Linked DNA regions of Homo sapiens: regions 2, 3, 4, 5, 6 and 7 are each linked to region 1. Evidence: promoter capture Hi-C in 16 types of primary human blood cells and fetal thymus (Javierre and others, 2016). All regions are on one chromosome and are shown on one strand. Each heading gives the region's core, a stretch centred on a gene start or on the middle of the fragment in contact. The rest is flanking DNA. Distances are from core to core; before and after follow the strand shown. Region 1 holds the start of FHIT (fragile histidine triad diadenosine triphosphatase). Region 2 overlaps FHIT (fragile histidine triad diadenosine triphosphatase). Region 3 overlaps CFAP20DC-DT (CFAP20DC divergent transcript). Region 4 overlaps FHIT (fragile histidine triad diadenosine triphosphatase). Region 5 overlaps CFAP20DC-DT (CFAP20DC divergent transcript). Region 6 overlaps CFAP20DC-DT (CFAP20DC divergent transcript). Region 7 overlaps CFAP20DC-DT (CFAP20DC divergent transcript).

The links. The method cuts DNA at HindIII sites, captures the fragments that hold promoters and counts their contacts. A CHiCAGO score of 5 or more calls a contact.
Region 2: a contact is called between a fragment that was not itself captured here and the fragment with the promoter of FHIT in region 1, in 2 of 17 cell types (naive CD8 T cells and total B cells). The highest score is 5.2, in naive CD8 T cells.
Region 3: a fragment that was not itself captured here is called in contact with the fragment with the promoter of FHIT in region 1 in 3 of 17 cell types (total CD4 T cells, naive CD4 T cells and non-activated CD4 T cells); the score reaches 6.9 in total CD4 T cells.
Region 4: a contact is called between a fragment that was not itself captured here and the fragment with the promoter of FHIT in region 1, in 4 of 17 cell types (total CD4 T cells, non-activated CD4 T cells, naive CD4 T cells and 1 more). The highest score is 6.1, in total CD4 T cells.
Region 5: a fragment that was not itself captured here is called in contact with the fragment with the promoter of FHIT in region 1 in 2 of 17 cell types (naive CD8 T cells and naive CD4 T cells); the score reaches 6.2 in naive CD8 T cells.
Region 6: a contact is called between a fragment that was not itself captured here and the fragment with the promoter of FHIT in region 1, in 6 of 17 cell types (naive CD8 T cells, total CD4 T cells, naive CD4 T cells and 3 more). The highest score is 8.7, in naive CD8 T cells.
Region 7: a contact is called between a fragment that was not itself captured here and the fragment with the promoter of FHIT in region 1, in 8 of 17 cell types (total CD4 T cells, naive CD4 T cells, activated CD4 T cells and 5 more). The highest score is 13.9, in total CD4 T cells.

Annotation. Positions count from the first base shown.
Region 1 is chr3:61,248,986-61,253,014 of GRCh38, reverse strand. FHIT (fragile histidine triad diadenosine triphosphatase) reads left to right here and starts at 1,563. Exons shown (of 10, transcript NM_002012.4): 1 at 1,563-1,714. It overlaps LOC124909387 (a long non-coding RNA gene), which reads right to left and starts at 1,423. Exons shown (of 2, transcript XR_007095939.1): 1 at 1,388-1,423. RefSeq lists enhancers at 1,466-1,760, 1,825-1,884, 2,015-2,144, 2,285-2,414, 2,695-2,974. The HindIII fragment of the contact is 4,935 bases long and covers 244-4,029 here.
Region 2 is chr3:59,872,538-59,876,473 of GRCh38, reverse strand. The region is part of intron 8 of FHIT (fragile histidine triad diadenosine triphosphatase); the gene reads left to right. All of the region lies in intron 2 of LOC105377113 (a long non-coding RNA gene), which reads right to left. Among named protein-coding and RNA genes, the nearest start is that of MIR548BB, 740 kb to the left of the region's middle. The HindIII fragment of the contact is 1,154 bases long and covers 2,093-3,246 here.
Region 3 is chr3:59,548,021-59,551,549 of GRCh38, reverse strand. The region is part of intron 6 of CFAP20DC-DT (CFAP20DC divergent transcript); the gene reads right to left. Among named protein-coding and RNA genes, the nearest start is that of CFAP20DC-DT, 460 kb to the right of the region's middle. The HindIII fragment of the contact is 915 bases long and covers 1,024-1,938 here.
Region 4 is chr3:59,764,716-59,768,646 of GRCh38, reverse strand. The region is part of intron 8 of FHIT (fragile histidine triad diadenosine triphosphatase); the gene reads left to right. All of the region lies in intron 6 of CFAP20DC-DT (CFAP20DC divergent transcript), which reads right to left. Among named protein-coding and RNA genes, the nearest start is that of CFAP20DC-DT, 680 kb to the right of the region's middle. The HindIII fragment of the contact is 7,479 bases long and covers 1-3,931 here.
Region 5 is chr3:59,501,004-59,505,115 of GRCh38, reverse strand. All of the region lies in intron 5 of CFAP20DC-DT (CFAP20DC divergent transcript), which reads right to left. Among named protein-coding and RNA genes, the nearest start is that of CFAP20DC-DT, 420 kb to the right of the region's middle. The HindIII fragment of the contact is 2,582 bases long and covers 1-2,558 here.
Region 6 is chr3:59,586,071-59,590,128 of GRCh38, reverse strand. All of the region lies in intron 6 of CFAP20DC-DT (CFAP20DC divergent transcript), which reads right to left. Among named protein-coding and RNA genes, the nearest start is that of CFAP20DC-DT, 500 kb to the right of the region's middle. The HindIII fragment of the contact is 4,368 bases long and covers 1-3,711 here.
Region 7 is chr3:59,568,966-59,572,795 of GRCh38, reverse strand. All of the region lies in intron 6 of CFAP20DC-DT (CFAP20DC divergent transcript), which reads right to left. Among named protein-coding and RNA genes, the nearest start is that of CFAP20DC-DT, 480 kb to the right of the region's middle. The HindIII fragment of the contact is 3,038 bases long and covers 438-3,475 here.

The sequences.
Region 1 (4,029 bases), core at 314-2,813:
AAAGAATTGTATTACAGGAAATGACCCCAAATTGACAGAAGATTAGGCTAGGAAGCCTGAACAGGTGTTTTAATCTCTATGCACAAAATCAGTCTGTACATATATTGCTCACATTCCTGCTGTTTTAACTATATTTTTTTTTTCAATTTCACTTTGTTATTCACAATTTGATAATATTTTATGTGGCCATGGTGTCTGTGTGATGAACTATAATCCAATGTGACATTCTCTGAGAGTCAAGCTTCCAAGGACATCAGATTTTCACACCAGGACACTTTGTAGGACACCTTGCTACTCTCCATGGGATTCAAATATTAGAAATAATGAGAGATCTAAGACTTGATGTAATTGCCTGCATGTAATGAATCAGGCCAAATAAAAAAGTGAGAGACAGAGAAAGGAAATGGTGCTAAGGAAAATGGGGACCTATCTTAGTGTTTGTCTGAGAGAAAACTGCTCTTTGTTTTTCCCGATGTAATGGCAAGAGTCTGCAGCCAGGAATCTAGTCCTTGCTTAGGAGCTGCATGACCTTGTGAAAATTACGTAGGTGTTCTGCAATTTGTAATTGCATTTATTGTAAAATTAATTTTACTTTTCATACGTCACTAGACAGAGCATTTTGAGGTTAGGAATTGGGTCTGAATCAATGATTTCTCCAGCACCCACATGGCATTTGGCACAGAATACATCAATAATGATTTTGGATTAAACAGGGGAACAAGCACAAGGAACCATGGTGGTCAGAAACGGGTTGATCTGCACCAGAGAAAGGGAGACTAGGGGAGAAAGGTCACTCTAGATTTCGTTCAATTATTGAAAATACGGTGTATTTACTATGTGCTGGGCACTTTTCTAGGTGCTAGAAAGACTACAGTGACCAAAACAAAAATCCACATCTGCAGGGATCTTGCATTCTAGTGAGAAAGTAAGATGGTAAAAAAGATAAATACGTAAATTTTATACAATGCTTCGTAACGACAAATGCTAAGGAGAAAAACAGCACAGAAAAGACAGAAAGGAAAAGAGAAGGGGCGCATGTGGTGCAATTTTGTTAGGATGCCAGGGAGGGCTGAGCGTAGTCGTAAATGACCACATTATTTGATGGATCAAGCCAGGGACTGCAAGTCTGTGTTTCTGAGAGACACATAAAGAAAAGAAGGCTTAAGGAATCCAGAAAGATCCAGAGTGGGGAAATGAAACGAAAAGAAATCCAGCCAGTGGGAAGTCGTGAAGGGATAGTTAAACGCGTTTTGGGAGGAAAGAAAAAAGCAAAAGTGCGGTACAGCCTTTCGTTACACGTGAAAAGAATCATGTTTCTTTTTCTAGTTAGAAAAAGCCAAAGATTGTGCGATTTATGCCCCAAACCCCCTTGTAAGGGGATTCTCACCTCAACTTGTCTTCTGTGGTCAGTGTTTCCCGCCCCTGAATCAGGGTTACTGTCACTATGGCTTTCAATTGGCCCGGCGTAGGCGCATGCTCTGCGCGTATTGGCCTCCGCTCCTGTCCCCAGACAAGCGGCCATCTTGGGTCCCGCCCCTACCGTGGGGTCTTCTGGGAATTGCAGTCCCCGCTCTGCTCTGTCCGGTCACAGGACTTTTTGCCCTCTGTTCCCGGGTCCCTCAGGCGGCCACCCAGTGGGCACACTCCCAGGCGGCGCTCCGGCCCCGCGCTCCCTCCCTCTGCCTTTCATTCCCAGCTGTCAACATCCTGGAAGGTAGGGGCGGGGAGGCAAGCCCAAGTGGAATACTGTTTCTGGGGCGCGGGTCTGGGTTTCCACGCGCGTCAGGTCATCACCCCGGAGCCCAGTGGGGCCGGCGCCGCTCACGGGGCGGTGGGCTTCTGTCCCGAGTACTCTTCCGCCCCACGAGGGTCTCAGGGTGGGGACTCGGGCCCCCCAATTCCCAAGCACCGACCCTAGCCCTAACCCGTTCCTCCTCCACCGTGTTTATACATTGGGGAAACTGAGGCACGGGGCCACGCCAGCGGGTCCGGGGACGCCACAGCTCTTGGCTCTGGGGGTGTAGTCGGCACCCGCCGTTTTGGGATGGTTCGTCAGTTTCATAGACAAGTAGCGAAAATCCGTCCCAACAGGTCTGTGTTAAACACGCAGCTCTGGATTCCCCTAAGGGGTTGCTGAACACGTGCCCAGGACAGGAGCAAACCGGAGTATAGAGAAGGCAGCATTTTGGGAGATAATTTTACATTACTACTTCAAAAACAGGCAAAGAGGCATCGAATTTATTGTTGTGGGAGAACTCATCGGTACTTGGTCGGACTTTCTTACACTTATTTTATGGTTGTTGTTTTTATTTTTAGCGTCAAAGGGGGGAATTTTAAAGGTATATCCAAGTTGGTGGTGGTGGGGGGTAAGGAGGCAGGTTAGTGGAACTTGAGATGCATCTGCAGATTTCTCTGTAGGCTCACATTCTGCCCTCGCTGTGTTACCTTGGAACAGCCACTCACAGCGCTTATCTGGGAAACAAGGAGCTCAATGCTCCCAGGTCAAGTGGCCAAAGGATGTTGCCTGAAGCCGAAATCTAAATTGAGGTTATGCTTGTGAAAGTTTACCACTTGCAGATTTACTGCTATTATTATTCTGGTCTCTCAGAAATGTGCTGGGACCAATAGAAAATACTCACAGTGGTTGTTTTAGTAAGGTTCTGACCTGGGCCGGGCCCAGACTACCAAGGGTGGTCCCTACTCGCACCTGATGTTAAGCCGGATCTACCTGAACTCTCCCTCCTTGGCTTCAGCCTGCGGCCTGAGGCCTTGGCCGCGGAGGCTTCTGGGAGTTGCAGTCCCGCCTCTTGTTTCTCGTCGGGCAGGTACTCCACCTCGTGGCGTGCCATTTTGCACGGCGAGATGTCTCCTGGGAGACGAAGTCTCGCTTCTAGCCGTTCTGTAGAGCAGCCGCTTGACTCGGAACTACAACTCCCATGTGGACCTGCGTTCATGGCTGCCGGCCTGTGTCCACCTGCTGCAACCTGGACTAGAAATATTTAGTAAAGAAAGAAGTCTAGGGTTTGTGTGTGTGTGTGTGTGTGTGTGTGTGTGTGTGTGTGTGTGTGTGTGTGTGTGTGTTGTTATTGATTGCATATGCTGTTCTAAGTGTTAGATATGGGATTGTTGTATACGGTGTTCCAAGTATTAACGTACATGCTTCCAAAACCACTAACACTTGACCATTTAGAACCTGTTCACATGATCTCTTTTTAATACTACATTTCCCATTTGTATATGAGAAAAAACTTGAGAAGATAGCCCATGATTACACAGCTAGCAATATAATATATATTCAATAAAATATATGTGTTATAATTTAATCCTCTTAAAAGCTATATGAGAGTGAGAACCATTTTTATATCAACTTTACAGATTAGAAAACTAAGGCTAGGAAAGTTAAGTAACTTGTTCAAGTTAAAACACTGGTGAATAAAAGGACTGAGACTGTAAGCCCTTCTGCTTAACAGTCTCTGCTTAGAGAAAGACCTTACCTTACAGAGCTGAGGAGGAGTCCAACCTTTCTGGCTACAGAATTTGGAATCTTTTAATTATACCATGCTGCCTCTGTACTTAGATACTAAACATTTGAGCTGCAAAAACCTTTGAGATCATTTAATTCTAATGCAAAGATCTTGGAACACTTCTTGGCCTATAATAAAGATTCCATATATATATGTATATAGTTTTAGAATACCTTTATTTTAGAGATTAGGAAACTGGCCCAGGTGGTAAAGCAGTTTGCCCAAGGTCACACAGTTGGTTTGTGTCAGAGATTAGACTAGAACCAAGCATCTTATTTTCAAGTCCAGGGTTATTTTCATTCCACCAGCAGTCAGCTAGCAGGAACACCAGATGTGTAGCTCTTTAGATAATGGTTTCTCCTCTAATTTGCTCTTTCAAGGCCACAGACCAGGACCAATTGTTATAAATTATCTTATTTATTATTGGTAAGGTTGTAATACTTCATGAATTCAACAAATGTTTTTTGAGCTTCTTTATATGGTCATCTCTCTTAAGGTGCAAGGA
Region 2 (3,936 bases), core at 1,420-3,919, 1.4 Mb after region 1:
CAGGGGCTGGGGAGGGGTGCTGCTCCCACACTCCCTCCCTGCCCCTGTCCCAGTGGCCCCAGAAGCCAAATACTTCTCTATAATTCCAGATTATTCTAGTTTAAATAATGTAGCTTATCAAACACCAAAAATCCATACTAGAAGATTTTAAGCCACATGAAATTCACATTGCCATTTAGGAAAAAATAATCTTTTTTAAGATCATAGCTCCCTATTCAGATACCTAATTAATGAATATATATTTATATATGTTTTTTCTGCATATATACATATATATATTTGTGGTAAGATACACATAACATAAAATTTACTATTTTAACCATTTTCAAGAGTACAGTTCAGTGGCATTAAATACAGGCATATGAAACTATAATTACATCTACCAGGTGTCCCCACCTAATAGACCTATGTATATTTGAGTGATGATTCTTTTTGATTTCTGTGTCTCTATACTGGAATAAAGAATCTCTGAAATTTGTAATCTATAAAATTCTTGAACTAAAATCTTTTTTTTTTCTTTTTTTTTTCTTTTTTTATCAAACAGACGAGTTGTTTCTCATCCTGAGGGCATATGTGCTTGGGAAAAACTCTGACATCTTAAGAAATGATGTTACTCATGGCTGACGCATGGCTGGCATATGAATCCATATGAATATGATATATGAATCCATGTCACAGGCCCTCCCTCTTTCCATAATAGAACACTTCCAAAATGGCTTCCCATCTCTTGTTAAGCCATCGTTAGCTCCCTGATAATATTAACCCATGAATAATGGCCTCTAGAATACATTTTTTATTATGATGAAAGGTAAAATTTCCTTTGCTAAAAACTATAAAATTTTCCTTTGCTAAAATTATAAAAAAAAACTTGTAAGCAAAGATATCTAGATGCTCCTGATATCACAAAAATATAAATAGTTACTCTAAAACTTCCCCCTCACTGCACAGGAGGGATTAACAAATCACAGGACATTTTCCCTATTCCCTGAACAAAGATTATAGACCCAGAGAGAGCCCTGGTATCAGACAAGAGTCTTGAGGACGCCAGGCAGGATGGCTTCGCCCACACTTCTCTGGCCTTCCCAAATGATGATGAAGAGGTAAGCTGGGGCAATGTCTTCCCTGGGAGATGGAAACCTAGACATTCAACAGTGAGTAGTAGTTTAGGGGAAACAGCTGGCACCTCTGGCAGTCGCCTCAGAGGTCAACCAGCGTGTAGATTGCTTTCCCTCAGGCTTTGGTGACAGTGACAAAAGAAGCATTCAAAATCATAGGCTGAGTGATTGTTCCCTGGAAGCAAGTCTGAGGCCCCTGCAGACGTGGTTGTCAGTGTTGGATCAAAGCACTCTTCTCCTCTGGACAGGAAACAAAGCAGAAAGAATAAACTGGATGCACCTCCTATCTCCAGAGGTAACTAAAAAGATACACCTGGGAAGGACCACTCTAATAAGGGTTTTTGATGAAATGGATCAGAGTCAAAAAGGGAAGCACTTGCCGAAATAGGAGATGCTTCTAAAAACTCTTGATTTTCCCTTTGGCTTTGCTTTTGAAAAATGGAAGCTGTCTTGTGGGGATTTGGAGAGTGATTGAAGGTGCTGATTAGCAGCTGATGAACTGAAAGGGAGTGCTAGAAGGAATGGAATTGGAGCCCATAGAAGAGCTTGTGGCTCTAAAGGGGAAAACAGCAGGAGGCAAGGTCTGTCTGGTTCTTGCTGCATCCCTAGTGCCTAGCATGGTGCCCAGCACAGGCCAGGGTAAAATCGTTTTCTTCTGACTAACTGGCAAAAAAAAAAAATGAAAAACACAAAACCTAAGCAAGCAGCCGGATGAAGTCTCCTGACCTCCCTCCCTTCTTTCCCAAGCCCACTGTCCTAACCCCGTAATATCGTACGTTTCAGTCTGTGAGGGAATAAGCAGGGAGCAGCGGGCATCTTCTAGATCCCTGGACCAGCAGCATCAGCATCACCTGGGAACTTGGAAATGCAAATTATTGTGCCTCACCCTAGACCTACTAAATCTGCAACTCTGCTGACTGGGGCTCAGTAACCTCCAATTCAGCAAGCACTCCAGGGAATTCTGAAACAGTAAAGCTTGAGAACTACCATGCTAGTCGAAATTATGGATCAATTTTTAACTTTTTTGAACTTTTTAACCAGGTGTCTTGGCATTTCGTGAATACAGCATGAGCCCTTTGCATTAACACATGGCACGAAATTGTTTTTTGGCCAGAGAAGAAGTTGGATCGATGGACTTGAGAGCTTTGAACTTCTTTTTGAGGCATTTGGGGTTAGAATGACGTAGAAGGGGATCTTTGGAACATGAAACTTTTTGAGAAAAGCTGTAAATATTTTTGTGATTCTTTTTTGAGAGGCGAGGATAGCTTATGATCCTCACATTTCCCTGCAGAGCATTTGGGCCAGTTTTACTTCCCAGTACTGCATGTGCTGAAAGAAGAAGAGAGAAGTTGAATCTTTAAAGAGGAGACCGGTTCACCAGAAAAAAAAAAGTGTTGCTTGGAAGCTGAAGGCTTCATACTAATTTGTTGCTTTCCTCTTCAATCTGCATGAGAACAGAGCAAGGTTGCTGTCTCGGGAGATTTAAGCAGGGAACCAATCTAGTTTGTCTTCTAAACTGGAACACATGTGAAAGTGAAAGGGGAGTACTATTAATAATTTCCCTAGGACAGTGGGTGTAAATTGGGCGCCACCCTAGACCAGTGGTTCTCAGTTGGGTTCTTTTCGACTCTTCTCCCCCGGGGCACATTTGGCATTGTCTGGAGGCATGTGTGCTTGTCCCAACTTGAGTGGGGCTGTGTGCCACTAGCATCAAGTAGGTAGAGGCCAGGGATGCTGCTCAACATGCTGTAATACAGAAGACAGCAGCTGCAATAAAGAATTGTCTGGCTCAAAATGTCAATAGTGCTAAGGTCAGAAACCCTTGGCTAGAGGACAGATGGGAGAGTAGGTGACCAGTGAAACAATTAGAATGGGGCTGTGCTGCAGAAGGGCTTGAATGCTGGAATGAACCATTTATGTTAATTGGCCATTCAAGGCTCATGAGCAGGGAAGTGTTTTGTTAGAAGTTGGTTTGTTTCCTGCTGTCTTTAATACCCAGCACAATGTCAGGCATATAGTAAATGATGAGTAAATACATTGTCCATCTACCCATCCATCCATCCAGAAAATATTACCTGAATAGCCACCATGTGCCTGGTAGAGTACTGAGATTTGAATGTGGAGGTAAGCTTTATGAAAGTGATTTTGGCATGGGTTTAAAGGATGGGTTGGAATGGATAATTACTGGAGATGAGGAAACAAGTGAGGGGCACTGTAACTATCCAGAGGTAAAACAGGGAGTGTTTAAGCAAGTGCCAACTCAAAGTGGGTGGAAAGGAAGGAAGGAATTGTGTCAAAAATATCTCTAACCCAGCTATGTGATTTGACCCTTGACTCAGTTCAGGCTGTGAAGGAGATGAAGGTGAGCAGGGCTGCTTCTAGATTTTGAGTCTAGGTAACTGAAAGACTAGTGTTGTCAAAACAAGATCTCTTTTCATGGGAAAATTGATATGTCAACTTTGTACCTACTGAGCCTGATGTGCTGGCTGTACAAGTTGGAGCCCCCAACAAGGAGCTAGGGATGTGGGTCTGGAGCCCAGGGAAGACAGGTTAGTGGGACCCTTGCCCAGAATTCACTTCTGCATCTAAGCTCAGGCTACACAGCTTATCATGTCATCATCACTACAGCTATAGGATAAAGGGTTATCTGCTGAGTCCAAAATCTGTTGCCTTCTTGAGAAAGATATTGAGAAACATCCATAACTCTTCAGAGTTCTTTTTTTAAAAAACTATATATCCATTCAAAATATGACTCTCACTATGCAACCTGGTGGAAAACTCTGCATTTGGCCTCGAAATTCTTCTGTTAATAACAGACATT
Region 3 (3,529 bases), core at 232-2,731, 1.7 Mb after region 1:
TTAGTAAAATTGTACATGGGTGATTCCTGTGACCTAGCAATTCCAATTTCATGTCTACTTACCGATACCCAACCCATACCCAACCTATACTCTCTCATTTTCACAAGATGAGAAATTCATTCAAGCATTATTTGTAAAGGCAAAAATTTATAAAACAATGTAAATATCCAGCAACATACATGTCTTTAAAATATGATATACTAAAGATATAATATACTATTAATCAGTTCAAAAATATCAACTAGAGCTTCCTGTGTCAATATGGATAACTCTCAAAAACATAATGCTGAGTAGATGCAGAATGATACATATATAGTACAGTGTCATTTATACACATTTATTTTAAAATGCCAATTCTTTATATTCTTTCCGGATATATAAGTAGTAAAAATATATATACACAGAAATGATAAACCCCAAATTCAGGATAACTTTCCTCTCTGGAAGGCAAGAGGGAAATGGAATCGGAGAGTGGTATACATGGAAATTTAACATATCTGTAATGTTTTATTTCTTAGAAATACCTCATGCACATTTGGTAGAAATCAAATTTAATAAAGCTGGGTAAAAGGCACATGGGTGTTTGCTATGTTATTCACCATTCTGTTAGTATTGTTGAAATGTTTTATTTAATTTTTTTAAAACAACTTATCTTTCTAAAAATAAGTAGCCTTTATTAATGTAGAAGGGACAATAATGGGTATCTAATCATGACCCCTAAATTTATGTGGAGTAGAAACTTTTGGAGAACTGACAAAAGGCTGTCTATAAAACCTACCTAATTTCCTCCTAAAGGAAAGTCATATTTTACCCACACTCAACCCCATTCACCTTCAAAATAATAATACTTTTTCCATGTTCATCATCATCGACCATGTCAGTCTGCTGAGACCTACTTCTGAATGGATGCTACTTCAAAACAGTCTTCACTATTTTCTAAAACATTGTCTATCACTGCTGGCCTTCCCCTGTCCACTACAGTATATCCATCTCTTTGATGTGTAGTTTGTCTGCCTTAAAGCTTCTAGCCATTAACATGTATGCTGTTTCTCCTTTGGTCTTGGGCTGTAGCCTAGCTTCTTGGCCTCTTTTCGCTTGTTTTTGCCCTCCGTCATTGGTTATGGAAGCCCTCTGTTTTTGGGCAAAGGCTAGGCTCAGTATGTTTTCACAGTTCTCATTACTTCACCCTAAACAGTGTCTAGTGTATTAATCCTGAACCAGGTGCAGTTGTATGGAACTTCTTTGCATCTTTGGTTGTCCTAGGGTCTCTCTTATCTCCGAGCTCTTGCACATGATCCCTCTTGGTATAGAATGAACACTTGTAGCCACACCCCTTACTTTTCCTGCTGATTTCTTATTCCCTTAAACCCCAGCTTAATTCCATCCTCCTGGAAACTTTCCCAGATCCTTGAGACCAGCACTCTCTACTTACCCTGCTATTACATTCAGCACATAATATCATAATCACTCTCAGCCACCAAATATAAGTTCCATTCAGCCAGGGAAAATGTCTGTATCATTTATCACACACTAACTGTCAAGCACAAAGCCTGGCATGTAGTAGACATTCAATAAATATTTTATGAATAAATGAAGGAAAATCAAGTCAGACTAATGGTCTGCCTGCCCAGTGAATTATTCTTTTTCTGATGAGGAGTGTCGTTTGCATCCACGAAGTCAAGTTACCTAAACAGCTCAAAGTTTCTCAGTATCTCATTGTAGATCCATCTCCCAGGTATTTACCTAACTTTTTTGCAGAACCTTCACTTTTTAACCATATCTGGAATAACAAATTCCACAGAATTATGTCCAATTATGCAAAGGTTTAGTTCTTTTATGAACATCCTTCTTTCAAGCCTGATGTCTTTAAGTCTAAAATGCTTACATTGAAAATTCTTTACTTTTTTTTCCTTTCAGGTAAAAGTAGAAAAGAAAGCTTTCTAATTTCCATGCACAATGAAGGAAGACATAACAGAGACGAGAGCGAAAAATGCAAGACTGAAGTCACAGCACTCACAGAAGGCAAATCAGTCAGCTCTCGTTAACACACACAAAGTCTGGCATTTGTGTATTAGTGATAATCATGGATTACTGCTGTATTCTATTAGCCTTTTAGGGATTTGCCTTTGCTAAATCTAAAACAACAACAAGCAAATGCAAGTGCAGAAAAGGGAATTCTTATTAATGGAGCCTGTTTGATAACTCTTTTCATACCAGTTTAGAAGGCCTCTTTAGTTTGTTTTTTCAGCAGCAGCTGGAAGCAATACTTTTTTCGAATTATCAAAAGATTTAATGGTGTAATGTGATCCAAGAGCAGAACTAGTTATAATGAGAGAAAAGCAACAAACAGTATAAACCAGTTATAATCTACTATAATTTTACCAATTTAATTTTTAACTTGAAGAATATTTTATTAAGTATGTATTTACACATATTAAGTATATGTATAGATATATTTCAGTTTTCTATATTTCATTTTATATATTACATATAAGTTTGTACATTTAACTATATGTGTACCATATGTTTCAGAAATAAGTGTATTTTGCATTTAGTCTTTCTTAGACCAAAAGCTGGTTTTTCCCCAGGGAACTTTTCTTGATATTTCCATAAGAGATTTGTTTCTTAATATTTTTAAGGGCACTTTAAGAAAAAGTTTTTGGTTAGCTTGAGGATGGAAAATCTTCAAGGGTTCTATGTTCTAATTTTACAACATGTTTAACATTTTATAAATAAACTAAATAGCATTTGTCCTAAACAAACATTAGGAAATTCTTTGAAAATGCTCATCAGAGCATGCTAACCAGTATGTTTTAATAGACTTATTCTCCACGTAAGCATTGTTAATCCTTTGCATCTTTTTTTCTGAAGAGCTTTAAATCGTACTCTTAAGCAGGGTTTATTACTATGAATTTCAAGTAGAAAAATTATTGTTTATGTATTAAAAATATCTTCTGAAATGCAGCTGCTCATGCATGTGGCTAACAGTAGATTTGGGACACTGAGTTTTGCAAGTTGGAGGGAAGCACAGTGTACTAACAAATAGCTCCAGTGTCTGTTTTTTTTTGAAACCAATGCACTTATCTCAGAAAAACTAATATTCAGAGTATGGCTCTAGGTGGCTGCAGAGATAACTTTAGGTGGCAACAGCTAATATAATTTGTAGACCTAAGTGTTTAAAAACTGTAAATCATACCCTGTTTACCTGATCCTGTCCTCCCACACCTCCAAAGATCATTGTCTTCCTTTTTATCATAAAAAGAATTAAAATGATAAGCCAATATGCCTCCTTTCAAACTCATACTTAAACCTATGAAGTTATGGCCTGTTCCTGGAGTTGTCTTATGCATGATTCAGTAAAAATAACTTGCAGGTTTATTTTCTCTTAAGGTTTTGTTAGGACTATTTTGAAATCGTATGGCTTTTAAAAAATCAGAAGTAGAACAATTAAGCATATGCAAGGTTAGGATCACAAGTTCTGAGTCAGACAGCTCTTTTATTCAAACCTGAATCACGAATTCCAAGCTAT
Region 4 (3,931 bases), core at 165-2,664, 1.5 Mb after region 1:
TTAGATTGAACCATATGACATTGATGTCTGGGAAGTCAAAGAAAAGATTGGCTATTGTGAAAAGACATGATTTTGCCCCCAGGAAACCTATAGAGTGGAAGATAAATTAGAAGGCATGTACAATAAGTGTCCTGAAATGGAACCATCTTGGAGGGCCACCTAAGTCCAGTGCTGGTGGATCAGGGGAAGAAATGCCATCCATGCAGGGAGAACAGTATGTGCAAAGGGCTGGTAGTGAGATACAAGGCAGTTGTTTAAAGAATAACTCCTACTCACATGAGATGGAAACAGGACAAAGGGTTGAGAGATGCAGGTAAAATGGTAAAGGCCTGCTACTGTGCCAAGAAAACCATGTCCAGGACCAGTAAGTCAGGACCAGAGCATTTGATGTCAAAGGATTAGGAGATGGAGTCGAAATTGCACTGGACCATTACCTAGAATTTCTGCTTTTTAAATAAGAGAACCCACGATATAAGCTCTGTCAGTTGTGATGTTCCAATTCAGAGACTAGATGCAGGCCACCCCTGTTATATTTAGTTGAGGGACCTTTTTAGTAGAGCAACACTGAGGCTTTTAGTCCAACATGGCAGAAGACTCAAGCAATTCACTGAATCTCCCTGGGCCTTTGTTCCCTTCTCTATAAAATGGGGATAATAATATTGTGCCTCTACCTACCCTAGAGTTCATCAAATAACATTCTGTATGCAAAAGAGCTTTAAGTTAAGTTAGAGCCTCAATTTAGTCTGTATTGCTTAGCAAATGCTATGTATTGTTATATGAGGAGGGGGAATAGACAGAAAGGGAGTGGGACCCTGGAGTCCCAACTGCCTACTAGCTATGAGATCACATCTCTAAGCCTTAACTTCTTCATCTAAAAATGGAAATGACAGCACCATGGATGGGGTAGGTACTCTTATGAAGAGTAAATGAGATCATGTTTGTACTTGGCACTGAGCACATTGCCAGGCAGACAGCAAGCACTCAATAGAGCTCCATTAAAAATAACAATAACAACAACATAATTATTCCATCCTTAATGTTGGGCTCCAGTCCTTTGATGTTTCCACTTTCCGGGAGCAAAAATTTCCCCAACATTGGACCGAGGGCATCTCTCCTTCAGCCAGGAACACCACTCCATTTTTCTTTTTGAGACCAAGTCTCACTCTGTTGCCCAGGCTAGAGTGCAATGATACAATCTCGGCTCACTGCAACATTCACCTCCCGGGTTCAAGCAATTCTCCTGCCTCAGCCTCCCGAATAACTGGGATTACAGGTGTCCACCACCCCACCTGGCTAATTTTTGCATTTTTAGTAGAGATAGGGTGTCACCATGTTGGCCAGGCTGGTCTCGAACTCCTGACCTCAGGTGATCCACCTGCCTCAGCCTCCGAAAGTGCTGGGATTACAGGCGTGAGCCACCGCGCCCGGCCCAGCTCTCCATTTTTCATAGAGTAGTATTTGTTCCTTGTGGTTTATCTGCATTTTGGCTGAAGGATCGAGTCCAGAATCTGACCCCCTCCTGTTGTAAGTAGATGAGTTTTCTCTCCACCCAAGGCCCAAATAGCCATTTGCAATGTGAAAGAACAGTTAATCGGGGTTGTTTTGCATCTGGGATGCCAGAAAATCACTTTTTTCTTGATTTAAAAGAAATTTAATTTTGGCATCTGGTAGACACAGTCTGATAACCAATTAGGAACTCTCACAGATTTTGAAGCAATAAATTGGCTACTAGGCTTTACTCTAATGTCAATGAACTGGGGTGAGTTATTGCCAAAATCAATCAAAAAGAGAGAAAGGAGCAAAATTGCTTGGAAATTAGTTTACTTCTTTCAACGTCTTGTCTGTGTTTCCTACCCAAATAGCAATCAGTGTGCTGTTTCATTCCCCAATGATAGGCAGAAGAAATGGAGACAGAGCTGCAAAGCCTTCCAAACAGCCTTCTTGGTGTGGGAATCAACATAAACAAAAGGACTAAAGAGATTATGAAATGTGGAAAGCATGCGAAATGTATATTACTACTGCGGACATGTTTATTAAAATCTGGGCAAGCATTTTGCTGTGAAAATAAAACATAAGAGCACATTTATGGAGAGGAGAACATTTGGATGACTATCTCACAGACATAAAGCTCTTAAGGCAGAGAAGTTTTAATTAAGAACAGCAACCTGTGTGAAGTGCTATACCCAAAATAGATCCTAGTCGGGATTCAGTGAAGGGATACATCAGTTTCAGACATCTGGAATCCAGTTAATAACTCCAGTACTTTTATATGGCAAATGCTACTATGTTGCAACTTTGGTGGACATTTTGGAATGGGAGCTGGATTCCTATCTTGAGGAAAACTGCGGTCATCCGATGTTGTAATCTTACATGCCTCTCAAGGATGATCATTTCTCTTTGTTTTCCATCATAGCCTCCTTTTCTTTAGTTGTGTAAGTAGTTATGTTTAATGATGTTAATGAGTATCTGCAAACCCATTGCCCAGAACAAAACCTATGATTTTGCTACTATCCCACATCTAACAGTATGATAGTCCCACACAAAAAACCATCCCCTTGTCTCCTCACATGGAGTCAGTCCAGCATCCTCAATCTATGCTCACCATTGCTTTGTGACTTTTCATATAGTTTTAGGCATCTCTATGGATTCCTAAAGTGTGTATATTTTTATTGTCTTTAGGGAATTTTTTTAAACTAATATATTGTTAAGATTTCTCCCTATGAGCTGTGTGTCACTATCAAACATTTGTTTTGCTTGAGCCATGGTATTTAATTATGTGAACATATCAGGGTTTATTCATCTACTCCCTGGTGGGATGTTGGTCATTACTAGATTCTATCTATTTTAATCAGAGTTTCTTTGAACATTCTCATGCATGTCTTCTTGTACACATATGAGAATTTCTCTTGGTAATATACCTGGCAGTCATATTGTTGTAGATGTCAACTTTAGGAGGTAATGCTAAACTGTTTTCAAAAGAGGTTATTCCAGTATATCTTCTCAACCGCAATGCCAGAGCAATCCTGGGAGTCCATATCCTCTTTAGCCCACAGAATGGTTTCTCAGCACAGCTTGTCAATGAAGGATCAGACTGTCTGAGTAATAAGTCCAAGTTCTAACTCTTGATCAAGTTAATGTAAAAATATCACTTTCAAACATTGGTAATTTTGATCTCCACCTAAATCTAGCAGTACTGCAGTAAGATCCTCTTTCCTAGAGCATTGAAGCCTTGAAAGCAATATGGCCAAAGGGATACAAATGTCACATGGATGTTTGGGCTAGAAAGTTTTAAAGATCTGTGTCAATCCCTGATTCTAGGAACAGTCCATTTTCAAATATTTGTGTCTGGACCTTTACATAGATACCTGAAATTATAATTAGTTATTTCAAAGCATTTTTATCGTTGTCCTTTAAAAACCAATCAGTGAAACTCCTTTAAACCCTTGAGTGGCACTGAGGTGAGATTAACTGAAAGATTAGGACCCTTAAGTGATTTTTATAGGTTTTTCATTCATGAAGTTATAACTCTCTATAATATTTCAGCTTTGTGTATCTCTCAGCCATGGCTGTTTCTCCAGTACATCTTAAGCATCTCAGCCATAAATAATTGGAAGGTTAGGTACATAGTAGGCAGCTGAGAAAGGTGAGGGTATTGCTTTCCTAGCCTGAGGCTTCAAAATAGTCCCAAGCCTGGCATTGCATTTTAATTTTTCACTGTGCCAAAGCTGTGTGTGTGTGTGTGTGTGTGTGTGTGTGTGTGTGTGTGTGTGTGTGTGTGTGTGTTTGCAGTTGCCTTACATCTCTGTTGCCTATGCTGACTTCTGGAGAATGGTCAATTATAGGGCATATAAAATGAACAGTTGAACTCATAACAAGGAAATCTCAGTTTCTTTCAAGTATTCTGGTTAGAAAAAAAAAAGCATTTGAAATC
Region 5 (4,112 bases), core at 18-2,517, 1.7 Mb after region 1:
ACCAAAGAAAGTTGTTCCTTTCAGTGAGCCTATCTCCTTCAAAACCCTTTTCTTCTTGATGGAAATAACTTGAAGGGCTGCAGCTTTGTCTCTGAGTCTCTAAATGAAGAACATGTTCAACTCTATATTGAAAACTGGGGGGAAAGACTCATGCAGGCATCAAGGGGTTACACCTTTCTGCGTAGAAAAATCCTTTCCCAAAGCGGGTTAGAAACAGGCACAATGAATTCAGCCCATCTACTTTTTAATGGCTTGCATTATTAAAAACATTACTTATGCCTTTTGCATGACAAAGAACATGAGTAATAATTTTGATAATAACTTTGTCTTTGATACACAAAGGAACTCGGTGTGAAAGTTTTTAAAATACTATCTTTGGGGCAAAACTGGAGATTAGCAACATGCTGGGAAATGAGCTATTCCATTGAAGGAGAAGACTGCAGTGCTTTTTTTCTTCTTTTAAATTTTAAAATTGGAAACCCAGCAGAAAGCTGCTAGAATGCTTAAACAGTCATGTCCATTAGAATATTTGGTCTCTGCAACAACATGTGGAACTGCTGATCAGAAAAAGAGTGTGTATGTATATATATATTTACGTATCATTTCTTCAAACCTGCCCCTACTGTAGTAGGTTTTCTATCTACCAAAAACATCATGAAGACATTCTTTGTTTACACAGCAGTGGTTTGTGGTTCAATGCAATTAGTGGACAATGAACATTAAACTTTTATGACCAGCTTTAAGCATACCTTCTCTTGAAATTTTTTTAACCAAGTGACAACTGACATTCATTCATTCATTCAATACATATTTATTGAGTATCTACTATGCACCTGATATTGAATCTAAGGGTACAGTGAATAAAACAGATGGAGATTCCCACCCTGGTGTATTTACATTCCAGTGTGGGGAGGAAGATGCTGAAAAAATAAACATAAAGAAGAATATGTTGTATGTTAGAAGATAAGTGCCACAGGAAGAGGTATATCAGACTAGAGTGTATAATTTAAAACAGGGTTGTCAGGGTAGACCTCCTTAGAAAGGGAACACTTCATTCAAGATATGAAGGAAGTGACAAAACTCACCACACTGTCCATCATCACCAGTGCCAAGACCCTAATCAAGATAGGCAAAGTTGTGTATGGAGATTTAGCAGGGTCGGGAGATTAGGAGTTTTACTTTGGATCTTTTGGGCTCAAGATCTCAGACGAGAGATGACAAGTGACTTGGATATACTAGTCTGGAGCTCAGGAAGGAGATTTGGGCTGGAATATAAATCTGTATACTCTTGCCATATAGATAGCATCTACCACTGTGAAGCCATGTGAGATTGCCGAGGAAATGAGTAAATCTGCGTATGTTCATTGCAGCACTATTCTCAGTAGTAAAGACATGGAATCAACCTAAATGCCCATCAATGATAGACTAAATAAAGAAAAATATGGTACATATATGTCATGGAGTACTATGCAGCCATCAAAAAGAATGGGATCATGTCCTTTGCAGGAACATGGATGGAGCTGGAGACCATTATCCTTAGCAAACTAATGTGGGAACAGAAAACCAAATACTGCGTGTTCTCATTTGTAAGTGGGAACAAAGTAATGACAACACATGAATACACAGAGGGGAATAACACATACTGTGGCCTTTTGGAGGGTGGAGGGTGGGAGGAGGGAGAGGATCAGGAAAAATAATGGGTACTAATGGCACTAGGCTTAATACATTGGTAAAAAAAATAATCTGTACAACAAACTTCCATGACACAAGTTTACCTGTATAACGAACCTACACATGTATCCCTGAACTTAAAATAAAAGTTAAATTAAAAAAAAAAAAGAAAGAAAGAAAACCAGGATCAAGGGCTGTGCCCTAGAGCTTTCTAACCCTTCCCATACTGGGGAAAAGAGGAAGAACAGCAAAGGAGATGGAGAAGGTAGGAAGAAAAGCAAAAGAACAGGCTTGGAAACTAATTGAAAAATATGTATTGGGGAGGAAGACGTCATCAGCTGAGTCAATGCTGCTGACTCGCAGTCAAGAAAGATGAAGGCAAAGCATCACGAATCTATGGAGGGCATGAGTCACCAACATCTTTATCCAGGCACAGCATTTGCCTCAGAGACTCACACATCCTTTCATTTTATTATGTCTTACTAATCTGAAAATAGTCCACAGCCCCATCCCAGGCAAGGTCACAACCTGGTAGCTCACGAGATGGGGCTGGTCTCAACATCTGTTTGTTGTTGTTGTTGTTTTTGCTGGGTCATCACAGTATTTTAAAAATGTGAAGTAACACATTAAAGTTGTGAAATTCCCTGCTTAAAAATTACAGGTTTCCATGTCCTCTAAGAAACTTAAAGCTCTCACTGATCTGACCCATATTCCCACTGCACAGCAGCCACTGGCTGCAGCTGAGGGCTGTAGGTTTCCAGCTCACCATGACCCCCAGCAATTTGTACATGGGTGCAAATGAACTCCCATCCCACCAGCCACCCCTATTTACCTGCCCTGTCTGGCTAGAGAAACAACCCACTTTGCAATCTCTCTTCTAAGAAGCTTTAAAAATAGAATCAGATCTCAAAGGTTCTGAAGGCACTATATGAATCTGCATTTGGATCAAAGTACAATTTTTGAGGAGTTTTGTTTACGAATCTCAGTCTGAAAACCTTATATCTTATTGTGACAGATTTCCTGTGGACCAGCAGGAAACACCGATTTTAGGAGCTGTTTAAAAGTATTAAATGGCAAAAAGGTTTCGTGTTTAAATGAGCATGAGAAATAGCAAGTTCAGTTTTCACTATTTCTTTCTTTTTCCTTTGCTATGGAACATCTCAGAGGTTGTAAATGCTAATTTGTCCTAGGACTCTTAAAGACTCATGCCCTGGCCGGGCGCAGTGGCTCATGCCTGTAATCCCAGCACTTTGGGAGGCTGAGGCAGGCAGATAATGAGGTCAGGAGTTGGAGACCATGCTGGCCAACATGGTAAAACCCCATCTCTACTAAAATACAGAAAAAAATTTAGCTGGGCATGGTGGCAGGTGCCTGTATTCCCAGCTACTTGGGAGGTTGAGGAAGCGAATCGCTTGAATCCGGGAGGTGGAGATCACAGTGAGCTGCGATCGTGCCACTGCACTCCAGCCTGGCAACAGAGCAAGACTCCGTCTCAAAAAATAAAAAGAAAAAAGAAAGAAAGAAAAGAAAAAGAGTCATGTCGTACACAGTGTTTCCCAAACCTACCTGGCCATGGAATACTTTTTTGGATGGATGAAGTCTCCAGAGACATGAGAGATGCACAGGACGCCCCCGGGGAATGGCTTATTGCCAGATGTCAACACCTTCAATAGCATTTAATGCACAGATGTTCAACAAGTTGCAGAACAAATTACAAACTGGAGAGGCTGGACATGTCACCCGGCAAAGCTAACAGGATTCCAGACTTCACTCCATCCCTAGATGACAGCTGATGCAATGAGTCCTCAATTCCTGCACAAAACCAGTATCAGGGGGCATGTCGTGTGAGCACCTCTCAGCTGCATGAGCGTTGATGTCCTCCCTCCAGCAGCAAGTCTACCTCCAGCAGCCTGTCGAACTGATATTCTCAACAGCCTTGGAAAGGGCCTGCTTCCAAAGCTCTGGGTTTACTGAGCTAGTCACGTGCAGAGCACATGGCCTTCCACTGCCTCCATCAGTCTGCTCCCTGACTTCTCCACCTTTGCCGGTGCATCATCACTTGGTACCAAAACTCATCTCACATTGAATTGGAAGACTGTCCCTGGCAGGAGAAGGCAGTGCCTAGCAGTATGTGTCTGGCATTCTGGCTTTAGTATGTGGCAGTTTTGCTACATTTGTAGAAGCATGAGTTTAAATCAAACTCACTCTGAGGATGAAATGCCAGAGAAAGGCCCTGGCCTGGCAGCTGTACCAAGCTGGCCCCCAAACATCTATATCTCTGCCTTTGTTGTTCTTGCCTCTTTTTTAAAAAGTTATTATTTACTCATATTTAATTTTCATAATAACTTCATGAAGCAGATATTACAGATTTACAGATGAGAAAACCAAGGCTCAGAAAAATTTACTCATCTGATACAGAAAGGAACTCAGTGTGAAAGTTT
Region 6 (4,058 bases), core at 278-2,777, 1.7 Mb after region 1:
ATTGAAGGTTCTTATTACAGTACCAGATACATGGTAGGCTTTCCATGCATAATAGCTATTGCTATCATGGCCATGAGTTGAATCCTCAAATCTTCCCTACATTTTCTTATCATACAACCAATTGTTTAAGAAATTTCAGGAGTTTTAAGGCAATTCTTAAATTCTTCTATTATTCTTCCAATATAAATGCAAGGTGAAGAAGGTATTCTAGTTGAGATATTTTTCCCTCCAACCATGTTTTCCCCTTACTATGTATTTGTTGAAGAACCTGTGCCATACATGTAGAGTTTCCTGCAGTCTGGATTTTACTGGTTGCACACACAGACAATTCAACATGAGCCTCTCTCTTTGGTATTTCTTGCAAACTAACAACTGGATCAAGAGGCTTAATTACATTCAAGTTTGATGCTTTTGGCAAGACTAATGGTGGTACTGGGTTGTTTCACCTGGAGACGCATCATGTCTTGTTTTTCGCTTTTTTTTGAATGTAGAAGTCATCAATGCTCAACGTCTAAATATATCATGAATTCATAATGATATTTTTAATTCAAATTTGGGAGCTTAAGAAATTTACTTTAATTTTCCTACATTACACTTGTATACATACATGAGTCTTGGAATAACAACACTAAAGCCATCAATAATGATTCCTGACTATAGAACATTTTTTACATATGCTCTCCCATCTTTCTCCTCATTTTATTGTGGTACTATGTCTGCATTCTCAAATCATACAAGCATTACTTACCAGAATCTTTCTCTTCTTAGTCATAGACACACAAGTACTGCCACAATACATTTAGTGCCTACTGCCAGTTCTAACATTGAGGTCTCTAGTCATTTTGGTAATCTGAAGACAATTCTCTACTAGATTCCTTGACAAAAAAAAAAAAGAGAGAGAGAATGGGAAAGGTAACCCCTGAAATCTTACATTTCTATTTATTTTTTTCCTTTTTCTTAATTTTTTAAATTGTGGTAAAATACACACATAACATTTACCACTGCTACCTTTTTTTGTTTTTGATTTCTAGAGACAGAATCTCGCTCTATTGCCCAGGCTGGAGTGCAGTGGTTCAGGCTTGTCTCAAATTCCTGAGCTCAAGCTATCCACCTGAACTCGGCCTCCCAGTAGCACTGGCATTATAGGTATGAGCCATCACGTCTGGCCTGTTACATGGGAGGCTGAGGCAGCTACTTGGGAAGTTGAGGCAGGAGAATTGCTTGAACCCAGGGGGACAGAAGTTGCAGTGAGCCAAGATGGCACCACTTCACTCCAGCCTGAGCTAAAGAGCAAGACGCTGTCTCAAAAAAAAAAAAAAAAGTATATATATATATATGTGTGTGTGTGTGTGTGTACACACATATATACACACAAATATATATATATATATATTTTTTTTTTCTTTTTCTCCAGTAGTAGAATTGCTGGAACATACGGTAGCTCTTTGTTTGGTTTTTTGAGGAACCTCCACTCTGTTCTCTACAATGGCTGTACTTAACTGTTTTACACTCCCACCAAAGGTATATGAGGGTTCCCCTTTCTCCACATCCTCACCAGCATCTGTTATTGTCTGTCTTCTTGACACAAGTCATTTTAACTGGGGTGAGATGAGATCTCATTGTGGTTTTGATTTGCATTTCTTTGACAACTAGCGATGAACATTTTTTCACATGCTTGTTGGCCATTTATATGTATTCTTTTGATAAATGTCTGTTCATATCTTTTTCTCATTTTTAAGTTAGACTGTTCCTTTTGCTACTGAGTTGTTTGAACTCCTCTGGTCATTAATCCCTGTTGGATGCATAGTTTGCAAATACTAGCTCCCATTCTGCAGGTTGTCTCTTTTCTTCGTTGATTGTTTCCTTTGCTGTGCAGAAGTGTTTCAGCTTGAGGTAATCCCACTTATTTTTTCTTTGGTTGCCGTGCTTTTGAGGTCTTACACAAAAAACCTTTGCCCAGACCAGTGTCCTGGAATATATCTCCAATGTTTACTTCTAGTACTTTCATAGTTTCAGGCCTTAGATTTAAGTCTTTTAATCTATTGATTAGATTTTCATTTACAATATATAGTTTCCTTCTGTATAATAGTTATCCAGTTTTTCTACCCCTATTTATTGAAAAGACTGCCCTTTCTCCATTATATGTTTCTGGTGCCTTTGTCAAAGATGAGTTGGCTGTGAATGTGTGGATTTATATATAGGTTCTCTATTCTGTTGCACTGGTCTATGTGTCTCTTTTTACATCAGTGCCATGCTGTTTTGGTTACTATAGCTTTATAGTAAATTTGATGTCAGGTAGTATGATGCCTACAGCTTTGCTCTTTTTGCTCAGGATTGCCTTGGCTCTTCAGAGTCTTTTGTGGTTCCATATAAATTTTAGGATTTTTTTCCCTATGTCTGTGAAGAATGTCATTAATATTTCAATAGGGATTGCAGTGAATATGTAAATTGCTTTTGGTAGTATCCTTATTTTAATAATATTACTTTTTTCAATCCATGAGCATGAAATATCATTCCACTTTTTTGTGTCCTCTTGAATTTCTTTCACCAGAGCTTTGTACTTTTCCTTTTGTAGGTCTTTCACTTCCTTGAGTAGCTTGATTCCTAGTTATTTTATATATTTTTGTAGCTATTGTAAATGAGATTTCTTTTTATTTTCAGACTGTTTGATATTGTTATATATAAATGTTACTGATTTTTGTAAGTTGATTTTGTATCCTGCAACTTTATTGAATTTGTTTTTCAGTACTAACAGGTTTTTTTGGTGGAGTCTTTAGTTTTTTCTAGGTATAAGACCATGTCATCTGCAAACAAGGCTAATGTGACTTTTCTTTCCAATTTGGATACTGATGACTGTCTATGCCCTTTACACTAGAAGGTCAATTGTGGTGGATGATGACTTTCCTTATGCCTTCTTAATTCCATTTTCTTCTGAAGTAAAATGTTGCTGTCAAATAGTCTGATGACATCTGATATTCTTTCCCTTGTAAGTCAAGGGTTCTCTTTGTTAGGATGCTCAAATGTTATTTTCCATTTTTAAAAAAAGTTCAGACATTTTATTGGGCTATATCTCGCTATTGGTTGATATTGAAAAAATGTCTTTCACAATATGCACTTTAAAAATTTTTAACTCCAGGATAAAATTCTTAATTATATTTTTAGATTTGTTCTTCTTCCTTGCTTCAGTTTTCTTTCTCACAAACTCCCATTATCTATATACTGGATCTTCTTTGCCTCTTCAATATTTGTCAATTTAATGTGAATCCTTTTTATCTCTTCATTTCTTTTTGATTTTAAAAAATTCCCTCCTTTTATCTTCCATTTTTCTTAAGGCATTATATTGTGTTTATTTACTCCTTTGTTCCTTCTAGTTTAGCCACTATTTTTTAAATGACTTTTTATTTTTATTTTAATTCCTTGAGCTTTGTCACCTAATTTGAATATTTTTAATTTTGATTTGTTTTTTTCATATCTTATATCATTTTCTCAACATATTTTAGACTTTTTTTTAAAAAAAAACAGAATGTCCCAATTTTTTATCTTTGTTTTTTGAGTATCTATCTCTGGAATGTTTTCATCCTGTATAAGGATATCTTCTACCATTTATTCTCTTTCTTTGTTATAATAATTTTGTATGGGATTTGACCTGGATACTTTTCTTTCGCTCATATCTATGTAAAATTACTCTCCTTGAACTTTTAGAAGAAAGCTTGGTTCAGAGAAGATTTCTTTTACTTAATAGAACTCTCTTTTCAGTTGTTTTCACGTAGTATTAAAAATACGGTGGCCTGTTTTTGAGATTCTTTGTATCTGTTCCTCTCTCCTATTTTTATCCAGATCTTGTTTTTCTGTTGTATCTATTGTCCCTGTACTGCTAAATTTTGATTCAACTCCCAACAGTTTCTCGTTGGTGCAGAGTCCTGTCCTGGAGGGACCCTGGGAAGTCAGAGTGGAGAGTTCATGCAGATAAGACTGCCCCAGCTCCTTAAGACCTGACAGGCACTCATCTGTTATGGGATGCAGCAAAACCCCTCCCCGTTTTTGCTGCCACTTTGAAA
Region 7 (3,830 bases), core at 707-3,206, 1.7 Mb after region 1:
TGAATTTGAGTCCCATTGTATCTTTCATTGTGATAGACAAATGATATAATTTTAATTATTCTGCAAATTTGGGCCCTTGATTTGGCTTTTCATTTGTTGGGGGAGGCGTGGGAGCCTCAAAAACAGGTGTGTTTAGCTGCTGGTGCTGAAGGAAGGCCTCCAGGAGGGGGGTGGACTTCAAGTTGGGAGCTGCAGGAAGAACTGAGGGGAAGAAGGGCACTTCCAGCTGTATGATGAGGCTACTACCTGTTTGGAGGACAAAAGCCAACTCTCAAGGACTTACATTAAAAAGAAAATTTAAATACAGTTAGGAAATAAAAGATCTCGGTAAGTTCTAGTAGAAAGGCGTAGAATAAGTCCAAGACAAACCGATTCTAATTTAGCCAAAAGTGGGAAGAACAAAGACCTTCTGTACAACTTAACACTATCCTTAAGCTTGATTTCTCAAGATTCACAGGGAGAGATTTTGAAATGAATCACTGAATTGTAAGAAGCTAGGTCAACTGGCAGATTGTGTATCTCAGATTCATCCTGCTTCTGAAAATAGGCATTAAAACTGCAGCAACCTGGAAAAAATAAAAGCTGAGGTGGGATTTTAAATGACAGCCATAAGGACATGCCTTGTGGTGAAAGATGGTGGTTGGATAAGGAAGGGCTGCTCAGCTGTCTACTAAGGGACGCGGTCTCTGGTTCATTCCTCAAGAGTTTCCATAGGCTGCACAGGACAACAGCTTTCTCATTTAGGCTGGAGTTGAGGATGCTTAAAGTTTTGTTTTTTTCCACAACTACCTGCACTTTGAGGGCAACAAAGTGAGAATGACTCATGAGAGATGGTCCTGTTTGGACCAGAGGCAAAGCAACAACCAGCCCATCTGGGGAAAATTTGTCTCTAGGAGAACAGTGTTTGTGTATTGATAATATAAAATTAGATGACAGCATCCCCTTCTTCTCTTCCCTACCACCAAGGAGGAACTGAACCTTCAGAAATCCACTTGTTTTTTGTTTGTTTGTTTGTTTGAGACGGAGTCTCACTCTGTTGCCCAGGCTGGAGTGCCTTGGAGCAATCTTGACTCACTGCAACCTGTGCCTCCTGGGTTCAAGCGATTCTTTGGCCTCAGCCTCCCAAGTAACTGGGACTACAGATGCATGCCACCATGCCCAGCTAATTTTTGTATTTTTAGTAGAGATGGGGTTTCACCATATTGGGCAGGCTGGTCTCAAACTCCTGACCTCATGATCTACCCACCTTGGCCTCCCAAAGTGCTGGGATTACAGGCGTGAGCCACCATGCCCAGCCAATTTTTGTATTTTTAGTAGAGATGGGGTTTCACCATATTGGCCAGGCTGGTCTCGAACTTCTGACCTCATGATCCACCCTCCTTGGCCTCCCAAAGTGCTGGGATTACAGGTGTGAACCATCACACCCAGCCTCCAGGAATACACTGTTTAAATTTCTCTTTCACAAGTGATGCCCTGGTTAAATCCCTTCATCACATTTTGCATCTCTTCTTCAGATGAGTTTCCCAAGAGAAGAGCTCAGTCTCCCTCCCTGGTTACTCAACTAATGTCTAAAATGTCACTGGTCCTCACTATTTATTAAATGACTGAATTGCCAGATTATCAAAATCCATACATACTACCAGAGAAGTCTCTCTGGCTGTTACGAAAAGATTGGTTTCTCCTAAATCAACAGTCACTGAGAACCAACCATTCATTGAATAACTCATTCACTTCACAACTGTATATCTAGCAAGGATCTTAGTAAGTGCCAGACCCCTTGCAAGATTTTCCAGACACAGCAGCAAATAAAACAGACAAGATTCTGGCTCCCAGGGAGTTGATAGTAGGTAAGACCAGGGATCATCACACATTTCTATAAAGAGCCAGAGCATAAATATTTAAGGCTTTGCAGGCCACTTGCAGTCTCTGAAGCATATTTTCTTTGTATTTTTTGTATGCTTGTTTTTAACAACACTAAAAAATATAAAAAACCATTCTCATATCAAGGGTCTTTCAAAAATAGACCACAGGCCAAATTTGGCCCATTAGCCCTAGTTCGTCAACACTTGTTTAAGACAGACATTAAACAAATGCCCTGAGGATGACATCAGTACAGGTGAGATAAGCACGTAGGAGAGTGAGAGAGGAAAAAAAGGCTGCGTACATACGGCCAAGATTTTGGAGGGGTCAGGGAAGGCCACCAGGAAGGAGAAGCATTCAAAATATGATGTGATGGAGGAGCAGGGCTAACTCAGCAAAGAATGAGGAGCGTGAGGGAGGAGGGCGAGGGGGCTGAATGAAGGGAGAGGGGCTACAGGTAAAGGCTTTGAGCAGCACAGCTGAGCGGGATCCAGATAAAAAAGCCTTGTCAACTGTATCAGGAGCTTGGATTTTACCTTAGGTACAACGGAAGCCTTGTAAGGGTGGGTTTTAAGGAGAAGAGTGCCTGGATCTCCATGAAATTGAAGGAACTCTTCTGGCTGCTGGGCAGGTTCTACTCTGAGAAAGTAAGAGGCTAGTCCACTGTAGCCTTGTGCTATGGGTTCGATTGTGTCCCCTCCTCCCCCGCCAAAATGTGTTGAAGCCCTAACCCCCTACTCCTTGGAATGTGACCTTATTTGGAAATAGGGTCCATTACAGATATAATTTGTTAAGATGAGGTCATACTGGAGTAGGGTCCAACAAATGCCTGGTGTCCTTATAAAAAGGCAGGCATGTGAAGACAGGCACACAGGGACAACCCCAGATGGCATAAAGGCAGAGTGTGGCGTGCTGCAGCTGCAAGCCAAGTAAGGCCAAGTAAGGCCAGAGACCTCCAGAAGCCAGGAAGAGGCAAGGAAGGACACCCTTGCAGGTTTCAGAGGGAGCCTGGCCCTACTGACCATTTGATTTTCAGATTTCTAGCCTCCAGAATGGTGAGATAATATAATCCTGTTGCTTTAAGTCACCCAATTTGTGGTGCTTCCTTCCAGCAGCCCTAGGAAATAAATACACCTAATGGGTGACAATGACTAGGAAAGAAGGAAAGAAATGCACTGCTTTGAAAAACATTTTAAAGATAGAATTAAAGAGCTTTGAGATGGGTTGGATGTAGGGAAGTGGGGAAAAGGAAATGTATAGGCTGGCAATCCACACCCAGCTACTGCCCTTGGTTACCTGTGGAAGGGCAGCAGTGATTAGAGGGAAGGAAGAAACAGCGAGCATTTCCTTATAAAATACACCACTCCATCCTTTGTCTTCTTAAAGGAGGGAGTCGGACTTTCATAATAAAAATGATAGAGTAGAACAGTAAATAAGAAAAGGAAGGAAAAACTGCATGACTGCTAGGGCTGGCTTGAAAATCCCTGTGGATAGAGGAAGCCTGACTGCGCTTGTGAAACTAAAGCAGCAGCGAAGGTTGGGGTAAGGATAGACCCAGATTTCAGCTTGGGGCATAAGGCTGAGATGCGGGAAGGTTATTACATGATGGGAAGCTTGCCTTGCTTTGAGGGGTCTTCTGATTTTTAACCAAAAGAAAGCAGAAAGGGATATGGCAAACAGACATAGAGATATCTGCAGGAGGCAGAAACGTGTGGCTTTAGAGAACAGCTTCCTAAATCAGCCCATCATGGACACACGTTCTGCATTGGTCTTCCCACGTCTGTCTGGTGCAGGACGGGGTAGCCCTTCAAAGCAGCATGTTAGCTTTAGGCACCTCCTTCAGAGGAAGCACTCCATGGAAGAAATAAAAAAGGCTGAATGTTATTTTAATTGAATTTGTTTTCAATTTATTCTCAGCTGTCTAGGGAAAAACCTTTAACACTCACATCATTTGATTCCTTTTTACTTTG